Linked DNA regions of Homo sapiens: region 1 is linked to region 2. Evidence: promoter capture Hi-C in 16 types of primary human blood cells and fetal thymus (Javierre and others, 2016). All regions are on one chromosome and are shown on one strand. Each heading gives the region's core, a stretch centred on a gene start or on the middle of the fragment in contact. The rest is flanking DNA. Distances are from core to core; before and after follow the strand shown. Region 1 holds the start of LOC124904882 (a long non-coding RNA gene). Region 2 holds the start of GINS1 (GINS complex subunit 1).

Region 1 (6,221 bases), core at 1,292-3,791, 340 kb before region 2:
TTCTTCCCCACAACACGGATCTTCCATGTCAGTGAATGGAAATGGCATTTTCCTGTTGTTTGGGCTCATACCCTTGTCATCCTAGATTCCTCCCCCTCACACTCCACATGCAGCCTGTCAGCAAATCCTGTGACTCACCTTCAGAACACCTGCAGCACTAACCTCTTCCCCCATCACCATCCCCTCCTGCTACCATCCTAACCATACCTATCTCTTTTAGGATTATTCAGTAGGCTTCAAATTGCTTTCACCCTTGCCCCTGACAGCCTAACCAGCAGCCAGTGCAATTCCTTTAAAACAAGAGTCAGAGGAACTTGCTCTGGAGCTTGGAACAATCCAAAGGCTCCCCAGTCTCCTCAAAACAAAGACCACATCATTCCCTGGCCCACAGGCCATAGCCTCACTACTTAACGTGTGGTCCATGGGCCAGCAGCATCACTTGGATACTTTGTAGAAATGCAGAATGCCAGGCTCCATCTCAGACCTGCTGCCTCAGAATCTGCATCTTAAGCCCCAGGGGAGCTGCATGCACATTCACGTTAGAGAAGCGTTGCCCTCCCTGATCCAGTGTACCCTCTTCCTCTGCTCTCACTCATTGGGGCTCCAGCACATCAGCCTCCTCCTGTCCTTCCCATCACCCAGCAGGCTCCCACCTCAGGACTGCCACACGATGTCCCTTCTGCCTGGAATGCTCCACCCAGTTGTCCACAGAGACTCCCCCTCACCTCCTTCAGGTGTCTTCAAACATCCCTTCATCCAAGAGCCCTTTCTTCCCTGTCACCTACATAAAGTTATACCTCCGCCCTCATTCCCTAGTCTCAACCCCTGACTTGACTTTTCTCCATGGCTGTTACTTATTAGCTCTGTGTTTATCTTCCTAGTCCTCCTACCAGGAGGGAGCCCTGTGAGAGAAGAGACCAGCTATGCTGCTTGTGACTGGGCCTGGCACCAACAGCCACCCCATGGAGAGTGCACGGCAATGGCTCCTTCTTCCTACTACCTTCGTTTCTAAGGTCTTCTACAGTTGCAATGAGAAAAGTAGGTAGAACTAACTCTGTTTTAAAATAAATGCTACCTCGTTCCTTCTGGTTGGATAAGAAGAAGTGATCATTTCAGAACCAAACATGTCAGAACCAACCAGGTGGTGCAGAACTGCACTTCTTGCTGCCCGAGTTACCTAGAGGTGGCCTTGAGACCTTCCTTCTGAGTGTCACAGCCCAGGCCAAGGTCGTCCCCACTGCCTCCCTCCTGGCAGCCAGTCATCAACTCTTGCAGAACAAGCACAAGATTGAACAAGCACAAGGAGCACCCACTCTTGGCCCTGCATCCCGAAGGACCCTCAGAGGTTTGGACAGGGCAGCAGGCTATCTGGGCAGTGCTGGTCACATCTTCTCCCTAAGAAGCCGCTGGCCTCAACTTCAGGAGAGCTCACTTGGAACGCTGGATGCTGTCAGGCAGGGGCTGCAGACACACGAAGTGCTTAGAGGGCAGGGTTCTTGGGAATCCGGGATTCGCTTCTGTCTCGGTACTAATGTTTAGGCCAGAAATGCCAACACAGCTGTGACTACTGACCCTACAACCTGCAGCAGTGAATGCTCTTGCCCTTGCTGTACATGTGTGAAAATAAGCAGGAGGACAGAAGCTCACCCGAGGCCACCAGCTAGTAGGTAGCAGAGCCATAGCGTCCAGAGCATCTTAATTTAACAGCTTTAGGGACAGAGCCCACCAACACGGCCTTCGCCATTTGCCTTCATAGCTCCTGCCATGCCCATTACTCCAGAGTCGCAGTGCTCAGATGCTCAAGAAACAGTCCTGGCTGATAACGGATCCCCAACCACTCCCTGTGCACTCAGTGGTCTCCAAAGAGCTGGTAAAACCCTCCCTTCCTCTTCTCTCCTCCATCTCTCCCTCTTCCTGTTCTCTTCATTTGTCTCTGTGACCCCACACACACACACCTCTTTCCAATGACACTCAGAAGAAACCTGTGAGCTTCTCCCATGTGCACCACCAAGAGCTGAGGGCTCTCAGTTGGACAAGGACGGTCCAGTTTTGGTCCCTGCAAGCAAGCAGGTCACAGTTCAAATTGGGGAGAGACAGACACTGTTCAAATAGCTGAAATGCACAGTAAAACCAAAACACAGAATTTAGAAGAGCATGGCAGAGCTCAGATCAAGTACAGGACCCAGATGCTGGGAGTCTGGAATTGGCTTCGTCACCAGTTCACTGAGTTCTTTCTCTACTCTGCATCAGCTACAAAGAAAGATCACCAGATTGGGGAAAAGGAAAAGCAGGTTTTATTCCCGGCCAGGCATGGAGAAGGAGAGAGCACTTGCTCTAAAGACAGCTTCTTCCAGAGCGGTGGGGAGCTGGGGAATGTAACAGGGTTAGATGTGGGGCAGGAGCTATGTAAGCTTATGTGGGGAGGAACTTCAGACACGCAGGTGCAGATCATGAACAGGCTCTTCATACGACACGTGTGCAGAAAGTGGCAACGATTCTCTTCTATGATTCTCTTCTATGAGTGGGGACTTTAGCATTATAATGATATGCTAATGATCTAAAGGTGACAGGGGCCACTGGTTCTGGTTTGCTCGGTTTTGGGCAAGCCTTACTTCCTCTGGTAATTGGCGAAGCGTCCTGAAGTTACCAGGCCACCCAAAGTTCTTTTAAGCAAGCTTACCTATAGATAAAGAGATGAGAAAAAAAATTGAGTAAGAAAAAATGAGGAGCTTTCTCAGCTATATCTCTAGGGCTGCCATGGTGGCAGCTTCACAAGGTGACAGGGCTCCCTTCCCTTCTGGCTCCTATTTCTCGATGTCCCCATGAACTCCGGGTGAGGATGAGGTATGTGGAGTCTGCGCATACATCTGCTTCAGCAGGGGGCTTGAGGATCCCATATGGCTGCAACACACCATAGCCTCATGCACTGTGGCACTGTGCACAAAGCCCTGCAGAAGTGCAGTGCGCCCCTGACCCTGCGGGGTCAACCCAACAACACACAGCGAAGCACAGGACGAGAGAGGGTGGCCACAAGCGCAAGAAGAGCTGGGAAGTGGGAGTGCAATCCAGCAACTGCCTGGCGTCCTTCCTGGGGCTGCGGGATACCCGGCCAGGCAGCTATGCTCTCTGATGCTCTGAGGGCGGTGCAGGAGGCAGAACAGTTGGGCTCTGTGGTGGGGCAGCTCCTGGTCAGCATGAGCGACATGGTAACTCAATTCCAGCAGCACCAAATCCTGGTAACTCTTAATCACTCACCCCAGCCATCCATGAGCATGCACGGCTGGGGACATCATCCATCAACCACCCATAGAACAGACTTCCCCACAAGACCCCTTGCAGCCCTCAGTGTTCAAGGAAGACACCATGAAAATCATTACACCTGGGAGAACAGTCCCTAACTGCCAGGCCTGCAGGGCCAAGGGGGGCACAGCAATTGCCCCCACATGCCAATGCCCTTCCCCATTCCCAAGCTGCCTCTCCTGGGGTTCCCCTACTGTGGTAGCTGCACTGCCTTCTCTCGCTCAAGGCCAGGCGTCACTTTTAGTGCTATTTGAGAGCTGTAAGTCTCTGAGATCACAGGGACATCTTGGGGTCACTCCAAGGGCAAAGCTCTGAGAACTTTGAGCTGTGGCCACTGTCCTGCCTCCTGTGTGGATCAAAAATGGCTTCCTCCTTCATGGAGCTCCTGAGTGTACAGATAGCACTAGACAGGGAGCCAAGGGAGAGGCCTAGAACCCCTCCTGGCTTCTGCCCTCTGTTCTGCCTCCAACCTGCCATGTGGCAAGGCCCCTGACATCTCTAGGCCTCAGTTTTCTCATCTGCAAAATGAACCAATGAGATCCAAATTCTGAATCCTTGAGCTCTAAAATTCCAAGAGGTGTATGAGTCCCATTAAGAACATGCCAGACTTAATAGCCAGAGTTTCTACTCCTTTCCCAAAATCACAGCCTCTGCCAGTGTGGGGCCCTCCACAGATTTCCCTAAGGACCACCGGACTCTGGCTCTGGAGAACTCCTGCCCTCCTTCCTTCCGTTCAATGTCTTCTTTGTCTCACAACTGCCCCATCCCCATCAGCCGTCACTCTGGGCCAGGGACAACCGCTGTTTCTCACACTACTTTAGGGCTGGAGCAGAGACATAGCCACCCAAGCCCATGTCTGAGGGATATAGACAGGAACACCCTTTGTGGTTTTCTTTTCATGTTAGTTCAACTAGAATTAACTTTATCTTGGACTTAAGTGCAAGCAGGCATTGACATTTTGGTAGATTTCCAGTCCAGTAGCTTCTGAGAATGGCAGCCAGCTCTGGCTGGGAAGGTTTAGATTTTGACTTGCATAAAACTAAAAATTGAGAGGTGAAGCTAGGAAATGGATCCTCAGCTAGAACTCGGCGTTTGCTTTAGTTTGAATTTGAGTGACAACTAGAATGTGGACCTTAGAGGAGGAGGCTTATAGTCCAGAGGACAAAAGGGATAGTCCCAAGTTCAACACTGTGCTCAGAGAAACAGACTCCCACACCCAGGCAGAGGCACCGGCAGCAGCAGGGTTTCCACTGTGCCTGAAAGACCAGGGGCCACCTGCCCTCATGGCTTTGTCCTGTAGTTTCATCGTCCAGCAGAAGCCTGAACCAGTCCCCACACACATGGAGGGCCAGGGGTCCTGATGCCTGCTGGTAGCCCACCCTGTCCCCTGAGTGGTCTTGGAGCCAGGTGCACTGCTTGAGTCATCACGCAGATATTGCTCGGTTGCTTGTTTTGCAGCAATCACCTGGTTTCTTGATCCCTCCATGATAAGAGGCTACAAGGGGGAGAGGGAAACCAGGGAACAGCCTTTGGCTAGATCTGAGCTGTCGGCCCCTTTGCTCTGTCCTGAGAAGGCAAAGGTCACTAAAACTGCCATCGCATCTCTGCCTACCGCCTCAGGAACTTCTTGGGCTTCCCAGCCTCTCAGCTCAAACTCAGGTGTGAAGGTTTATGATGCAGTCACAGCTTTGAGCAGAGACCACAGGCAGGGGAGGAATTAGTCTGCAAAGGTGCTGATCGCTAGGGCTGGACATGGCTTTCCCAGAGACCAGTTTCTGTGGGTCCCAAAGAGAGATGAAACATGGCCCCAGCCCTGAAAACACCAGCGAGGACCCAAGAGGATGTGTATCTATTGATGAGGAACTAATAGCATTAGTCAAATTTCTTACCGGGCTGAATGTTGAGAAATTGTAAAGCTGGCCAACACTGCCCCCTGGCTCTGTAACTGATGCTGCTTTCCAGCCTATCTAAGCAATCTGTCAAATCTTCCACAGGACAAGCCAACCAGAAGAACTCACGCATTCCTTAAGATCATATCGCCATCAAAGGAAGCCCAGGAGCATTTCCCTAATAATGAGCCCTCTCAGAATAACCTTTGTCTCCTTAGTAAATTAATCAACACAGATTGACTATGGCCAAGACAGTGTGATAGTCCTGAACTCGGGGAATTCTGGATGAGGATATGAGAAATCTGTTCGCCCTCGCAAAGATACATACTCCATCAAGACGGACTGGGTACAGGAAGTGTATAGATGATAGATAGATAGATGATAGATAGATAGATAGATAGATAGATAGATAGATAGATAGATGATAGATAGACAGATAGATTCCTTTAAAAGTCTGATAAATTGGGAAAACACAAATCCCTTGGTGGAAGAGAAATTCTGAGGAGGAGCCCCTGGCAGGTAGCAGGCAAATGGGTTAGAATTCAAGGCAGAAACTATAACTGAGGGATATAGTCAGGAACACCCCTTGTGGTTTTCTTTTCATATTAGTTTAACTAGAATTAACTTTATCCTGGACTTACGTGCAAGCAGGCATTGACGTTTTGGTAGATTTCCGGTCCAGTGGCGTCTGACAATGGCAGCCAGACCTGGGAAGTGGCTTGAGAGGGCAGCTGGGAGCACTGCGAAGGTGCTCTGGGGAAAGCGTCAGGTTTTTTGGCTGGGGACCAGGGAGAAGTAGAAGTAAAGTAAAGCCATTTTTGTCCAGCCAAAGTTTTTGTCTGGATGGAGGAATGATATAAATGCAGGCTAACTCTACATAGTGATAGAAACATGTTTATTAGGTATGTTTAAATTTTATGTATAATTATTAGAAAACTAAAAAGAGTATGTGATTTCCAAACCATTGGTGAAAGAAATGGAAGAAAAGTTGGTCAATTTTAATAAAACAAAACAGGAAAGGGTGGAGTGGGG
Region 2 (6,449 bases), core at 263-2,762:
AAAGGCGGTTTCAAAAAGGCAATGTTTGCTGGGTGCGGTGGCTCACGCTGTAATTCCAGCACTTTGGGAGGCCCAGGCGGACGGATCCCTTGAGCTCAAGAGTTGTCGACCAGACTGGCCAACATGGTGAAACCCTGTCTCTACTTAAAATACAAAATAGCCAGGTGTGGTGGCCTGAGCCTGTAGTCCCAGCTACTCAGAGGGCTGAGGGGGGAAAATTACCTCAGCCCGGGAAGTGGAGGCTGCAGTGAGCTGAGATGGCGCCACTGCACTCCACCTGGGTAACGGGAGTTAAGACCCTGTCTCCAAAAAAAAAAGGCAATGTCATTATTCAACATAAGCCTGAGTAGGCCATTCCCATGCCCATTCCTTAGATGACATATCTACTGTATATTTGCAAAAGATCAACATAGTTTCTAGGGTTAGCTAGAATTAATCCAAGATTGCGCCGGTTGCGGTGGCTCATGCCTGTAATCCCAGCACTTTGGGAGGCCGAGGTGGGCGGATCACGAGGTCAGGAAATTGAGACCGTCCTGGCTAACACGGTGAAACCCCGTCTATACTTAAAAAATTCAAAAAATTAGCTGGGCGTGGTGGCGGGCGCCTGTAGTCCCAGCTACTCGGGAGGCTGAGGCAGGAGAATGGCGTGAACCCGGGAGGCGGAGCTTACAGTGAGCCGAGTTCGCGCCACTGCACTCCAGCCTGGGCGACAGAGCGAGACTCCATCTCAAAAAAAAAAAAATCCAAGATTGCTTGTTAGAAATTAACATTGCTTTTTGAAAAATTGCCTAATAAAACAATTCTTTAGCAGTGATTCCCATCTTCCATATGCTTAAGAAATATTCCATAACCATCTAGCCAAGAAAATTCCTAGTGAATTCGTATTAATCTAGGGCAGATATTACAAATATTTTTAAAAGACTATTTTAAAATCAAAGGGTGGTACTGTGGTGTTGGAAATGGAAAGCCTAAATAACAGTCTAATCACTCTGGAGCTGTGTGACCTTGGGCAAGTTACCTAACTTCTGTTTCCTTATTAATCCCGGGTCTTAAAACACTTCAGAGATAATTGTGGGAATGAAATACACACTGCAGTCCCTACCAGCACTAGGTACCCAATAAAAGAGAGTTTCATTTTAATATCAAACAGAAAACCCGCACTGCAAAACTGAAACCCTTGCGTCCTACCAATGCACACCAAGTTTTTGGGCCTTTCCTCTTAACCTCAAAGTGCTCTTTTCTTGAACCTAAACGAGAATGAATGAATCAAAAGGAAAATGACAAGGAAGCTGCGGGGCGTGCATTTATTTCCAGCTCTGCTGCCCGTAGAGTCCCCCGGCCCACTGCCTGAGAACTGGAAAAGCCGTCTCTGCTCAGCCGAGGGGTTCTGCCATCTCCGGGGCGGGGACCTCACCTTGGAAAGACCCCTCCCACTCCGCCCCTCTTGGAATGCGGCTGAGCGGTGGATGTCCCTTTTCGGGCGCCGTAGGCGCGTTCCTATTGGCTAGCTTTGTTCGGCGCCAAAGCGCGGAGCGGAGGCCGAGGCGAGAGCCTGGCGCTGTAGGACTAGAACGAAAGGAGTGAGGCGCCGAGAGCCCAGATACCATTTTGGCGTGAGAGCTGGTGGTTGGCAAGGCCGCGGGAGTGGGAAGCGTCCGCCATGTTCTGCGAAAAAGCCATGGAACTGATCCGCGAGCTGCATCGCGCGCCCGAAGGGCAACTGCCTGCCTTCAACGTGAGGGGCGGGTAGACTTGGACGGGGCATGCCGGCGTTGGGCCCTGGGCTCTGGGGCGGGGCGGCTCCCCGTCAGGGTTCACTTTCGCACCTTGTTCCCTCCGAGCTCCGGAAAACTTGGGAAGCAGCAAAACAAAATTCAGGAGGAAAGAGAAAGCATTCATGCTTACGCTACCCAGCGATTTGGTGAATTTCCTCATCTGAGCAAATTTTGCATTTTAGCAGTTTTCCTTGGACAGATTTGTTCCGGTCCCTTAAAATATTTACAGGTTGCCTGATAATTTAGCATTTCTTGCTCACTCAGGCATCTAATCGTGGTCAGTAAAAGCTAGGCCTCTGGAACCTGGCTGAGATTCTGGTTCTGTAGTGTGACTTTGGGGCAGTTACTCAAGCTTTCTGTGCTCTCAGTTTTCTCATACGCAAAAATGGGGATGGTGACAATAATAGTACCCAACGCATGATGTAGTGGACGCAAAATGAGTGGCATGTGTAAGGGTCTCTGCATATGCCTCACATACAGTAAGGGCTGAGTCAGTGTTAGCTATTAATATTACTTTTCTCCTGCTGCTGCTGTTACTATTAATATTATGATTATTTGTATTTTTCTATCACTGCTACCCCAGGGAGAGTGCTAAGCACTTCATGTACATTATCTTTTGTCTTTCTAATAACCCTTTGAGGGCCCGGTACCATGGCTCCTGCCTGTAATCCCAGCACTTTGGGAGGCTGAGGCGGGAGGATCGCTTGATCCTGCCACTGCATTCCAGCCTGAGTGACAGGGAGACCCTGTCCCAAACAAAACAAAAATAACTTTTTGATGTTTAAACTATTGTTTTCTACTTTTTTCAGCTATATATGCATAGGATTGGGGAGATTTAAGTATATTGCCTAAGGTGACACAGCAAGAAAGCTAGGATTTGAACCCTGGCACTCTGGCTCCAGAGCCTGCACTCTAAATTGTATATTTCACTTACGTCATAGAGCAGGCATTATGTGGATGTCAGGACACATTCTGCTGGAAGATGGGCACAAAAACAGATAATAGAATTCACCACGCTAAGTGATACTAAGGAGGTATAGCAAGGAGCACGAAGGAGAAACACCAGTATGAGCTGGGGTAGAAGAGGTGATATATGAGCCTTTCCATCCTCAAGGATGAGGTTACTGATCTGAGAAGGAAGCGAGGCATCCCAGCCAAAGGATGCTGCAGCACAAAGTCACGTGGTCACACTGGAGAGGGTGACCAATAGGGCCTGTGGGGAGTCTAGGAAGGTGGCTCACAGCCTACATGAATTTGTTGTTCACTTATAAGGCATGCTGGGAGCTGGTAGAGGATTTTAGACAAGGAAGTGATAGGGTAATTTTTGTGTTTTGAAGGTAACTGCGGCAGCAATATGGGGAATGGATTGAAGAGAGGAAAGAATGGGACAGGGAGATGGCTACTGGGTGGCTGATAGAGCAGGTGAGAGGTGTGTGGTCTGAACTGTGTCAGGTCAGTGGCACTGAGATCAGTGTTTGGGTTTTAGAGACATGAAGCAAACATGACTTGTAGCTATTAGAGCAGGGGCAGAGATGGGGTCCATAATGAATAAGAGGGAGGAATTGGGATCTTGGAGGATCCTTAGGAAACTGGGTAAACAACATCAGAGTTCAGGAGATAGAGTGTGTTGGGAAAGGTAATGAGTTTTGTTTTGAACACTAAAGAGCACCTAGCCAGACAATTAGATTGTCTTACAAATGAAGAAACTGAGCTGACACAAATTATGGGTCAAGTTAAGGAACTCGTCTGAATTTACAGCATATTGGAGGTAGAGCTTCAACTTGAACACAGGTTTTCCAGTTTCTAGTCAATTGTTTTTTCAACTTCAGAGCAGTTACCTCATTTAAAAAGTTAGGCAGCAGTCTGCAGCTCAGTAGAGATGCTTGAATGCAGAAGTGTGTAAATGCTAAAATGTGGCCTGAGAACTAGGAACTTTAGAGGTCATTGTACATATCAGGACACAGGCCTAGAGAACAGAGAGACTGTGCAAACAGGTGCGGCCAAGCTGGATTTTGGACCTGACTCTGACACTTAGTTTAGCTCTCTGTTTTACTCAAATTTTAAGTTAAGTGTTGGGTTATCACTTTGTGGGGCTAGGGGCTGGTCTTAGAAGTTGTAGAATCAGGCCAGGAGTGGTGGCTCACGCCTGTAATCCCCCCACTTTGGGAGGCTGAGGCGGGCGGATTACAGGGTCCTGAGATTGAGACCATCCTGGCTAACATGGTGAAACCCCGTATCTACTAAAAATACAAAAAATTAGCCAGGCGTGGTGGGATGTGCCTGTAGTCCCAGCTACTCGGAAGGCTGAGGCAGGAGAATGGCTTGAATCTGGGAGGCGGAGGTTGCAGTGAGCCAAGATCGGGTCACTGCACTACAGCCTGGGCGACAGAGAGAGACTCCGCCTCAAAAAAAAAAAAAAGTTGTAGAATCACTGTCTTGTAGGTCTTAATTTGGTGGAGCACCTTTTGTCTCACTAGTGCCTTCCACTGACAAACCCACCTGATACTCAAGGTGATCCAGCAGCCTGGAACACTTAGTCAGCCTGCAGAGGCTGGCCTCCGACTCAGCGGCACAGAGGAAGGCTGACAGTGGATCTGAGAGGCCCAAGGACCACACAGGCTTTTCTCTTTTTTTTATTGTTTTGAGATGGGAGTTTCGCTCCTGTGGCCCAGGCTGGAGTGCAATGGTGTGATCTCGGCTCACTGCAACCTCCGCCTTCTGGGTTAAGCAATTCTCCTGCCTCAGCTTCCCTAGTAGCTGGGATTACAGGCGCCTGCCACCATGCCCAGATAATTTTATGTATTTTTAGTAGAGATGGGGTTTCACTATTTTGGCCGGGCTGGTCTCGAACTCCTGACCTCAGGCGATCCACCCACCTCAGCCTCCCAAAGTGCTGGGATTATAGGCGTGAGCCACCGTGCCCGGCCCAACACACAGGCTTTTCTTCTGGAATCACTCATGGTTAAGCGCTGTGTTCAGCAAACAGAAAAGTGATTACACCCTTTCTATATGCAGAATTGATACTTTTTTTAAAAAGTACATTTTTAAGAAAGTTAGGCCAAGCATGGTGGCTCATGCCTGTAATCCCAGCCACCACTTTGGGAGGTCAAGGTGGAAGGAACACTTGAGCCCAGGAGTTCGAGACTAGCCTGGGCAACATAGTGAGACCCCATTTTTACAAAAAATAGAATTAGCTGGGTGTGGTGGCACACACCTGTAGTCCCAGCAACTTAGGAGGCTGAAGTGAGAGGATTGCATGGCTCCAGGAAGTTGAAACTGCAGTGAACTGTGGTCACGCTATTACACTCCAGCCTGGGTGACAGACTGAATCCCTGTCTCAAAAAGGAAAAGGTAAGAAAATTACCTTGGGCTCAGGTAGAAGTCATGCTTGCATTTTCCATCAGGAATTACATCTTTTGAGCAGAGTTGAGTAGTTGATTTTGGAATTGTGCCATTTGTATATGCCACAGCATTTTTGCCAACACATATATTTTGGCCCTAAAAATAGACAGTGAAAAAGAGATGGGATTGCTTCTCTTTCGATTGTTGGCAGACCTATTGGGTAACATTTAATCATTTTGGGCTGGACACGGTGGCTCCTGCCTGTACTCGCAGCACTTTGGGAGACCATGGCAGGCGGATCACTTGAGGTCAGGAGTTTGAGAGCAGTGTGGCCAACATGGCGAAACCCTGTCTCTACCAAAAAAAAAAAGATTACAAAAATTAGCCAGACTTGGTGGCTTACACCTGTAATCCTAGCACTTTGGGAGGCTGAGGTGGGTGGATTGCCTGAGGTCAGGAGTTCGAGACCAACCTGGTGAACATGGTGAAACCCTGTCTCTACTAAAAATACAAAAATTAGCTGGACGTGATGGGCACCTGTAATCCCAGCTACTTGAGAGGCTAAGGCAGGAGAATCATTGCTTGGACCCGGGAGACGGAGGTTGCAGTGAGCCAAGATTGCACCATTGTACTCCAGCCTGGGTGACAAGAACAAAACTCCGTCTCAAAAAAAAAAAAAATTAGCTGGGCATTGCTGGTGCACACCTGTAGTCCCAGCTACTCGAGAGGCTGAGGCAAGAGAATCACTTAAACCTGGGAGGCAGAGGTTGCAGTGAGCTGAGATCGCACTACTGCACTCCAACCTGGGCCACAGAGTGAGACTTCATCTCAACAACAACGAAAAAAATCAGAATTCTAATGTTTTATTTTTCCAAGGGAAAATTTGCCCGAAACTGGATACTAGAAAAACTCCTATGGCCGGTTTTTGCAGTGCAAACCAAAAACACTATTCCTTTTTCTTTCTTTTGGTATTAACCTTTTAAGATCACTTTTAAGCTGGGCCCAGTGGCTCATCCCTGTAATCCCAGCACTTTGGGAGGCTGAGGCGGGTGGATCACCCGAGGTCAGGAGTTCAAGACCAGCCTGGCCAATATAGTGAAACCCCGTCTCTACTAAAAATACAAAAAATTAGCCAGGCGTGGTGGTGGGCGCCTGTAATCCCAGCTACTCGGGAGGCTGAGACAGGAGAATTGCTTGAACCCAGGAGGCAGAGGTTGCAGTGAGCCGAGATTGCACCATTGCACTCCAGCCCAGGCGACAGTGTGAGACTCCATCTAAAAAAAAAGACCATTTTTTAGTAAATTATGAATTATTTACATATTTTTCTTTATA

What was found. The method cuts DNA at HindIII sites, captures the fragments that hold promoters and counts their contacts. A CHiCAGO score of 5 or more calls a contact.
Region 1: a contact is called between a fragment that was not itself captured here and the fragment with the promoter of GINS1 in region 2, in 4 of 17 cell types (total B cells, erythroblasts, M1 macrophages and 1 more). The highest score is 8.0, in total B cells.

The regions. Positions count from the first base shown.
Region 1 is chr20:25,060,691-25,066,911 of GRCh38, forward strand. LOC124904882 (a long non-coding RNA gene) reads right to left here and starts at 5,907. Exons shown (of 2, transcript XR_007067555.1): 1 at 5,831-5,907; 2 at 2,272-2,680. The HindIII fragment of the contact is 264 bases long and covers 2,410-2,673 here.
Region 2 is chr20:25,406,161-25,412,609 of GRCh38, forward strand. It overlaps GINS1 (GINS complex subunit 1), which reads left to right and starts at 1,513. Exons shown (of 7, transcript NM_021067.5): 1 at 1,513-1,735. The coding sequence starts at 1,661. It overlaps LOC105372581 (a long non-coding RNA gene), which reads right to left and starts at 2,135. Exons shown (of 3, transcript XR_937403.3): 1 at 1,911-2,135. RefSeq lists enhancers at 1,555-1,804, 1,902-2,659. The HindIII fragment of the contact is 9,972 bases long and covers 1-2,125 here.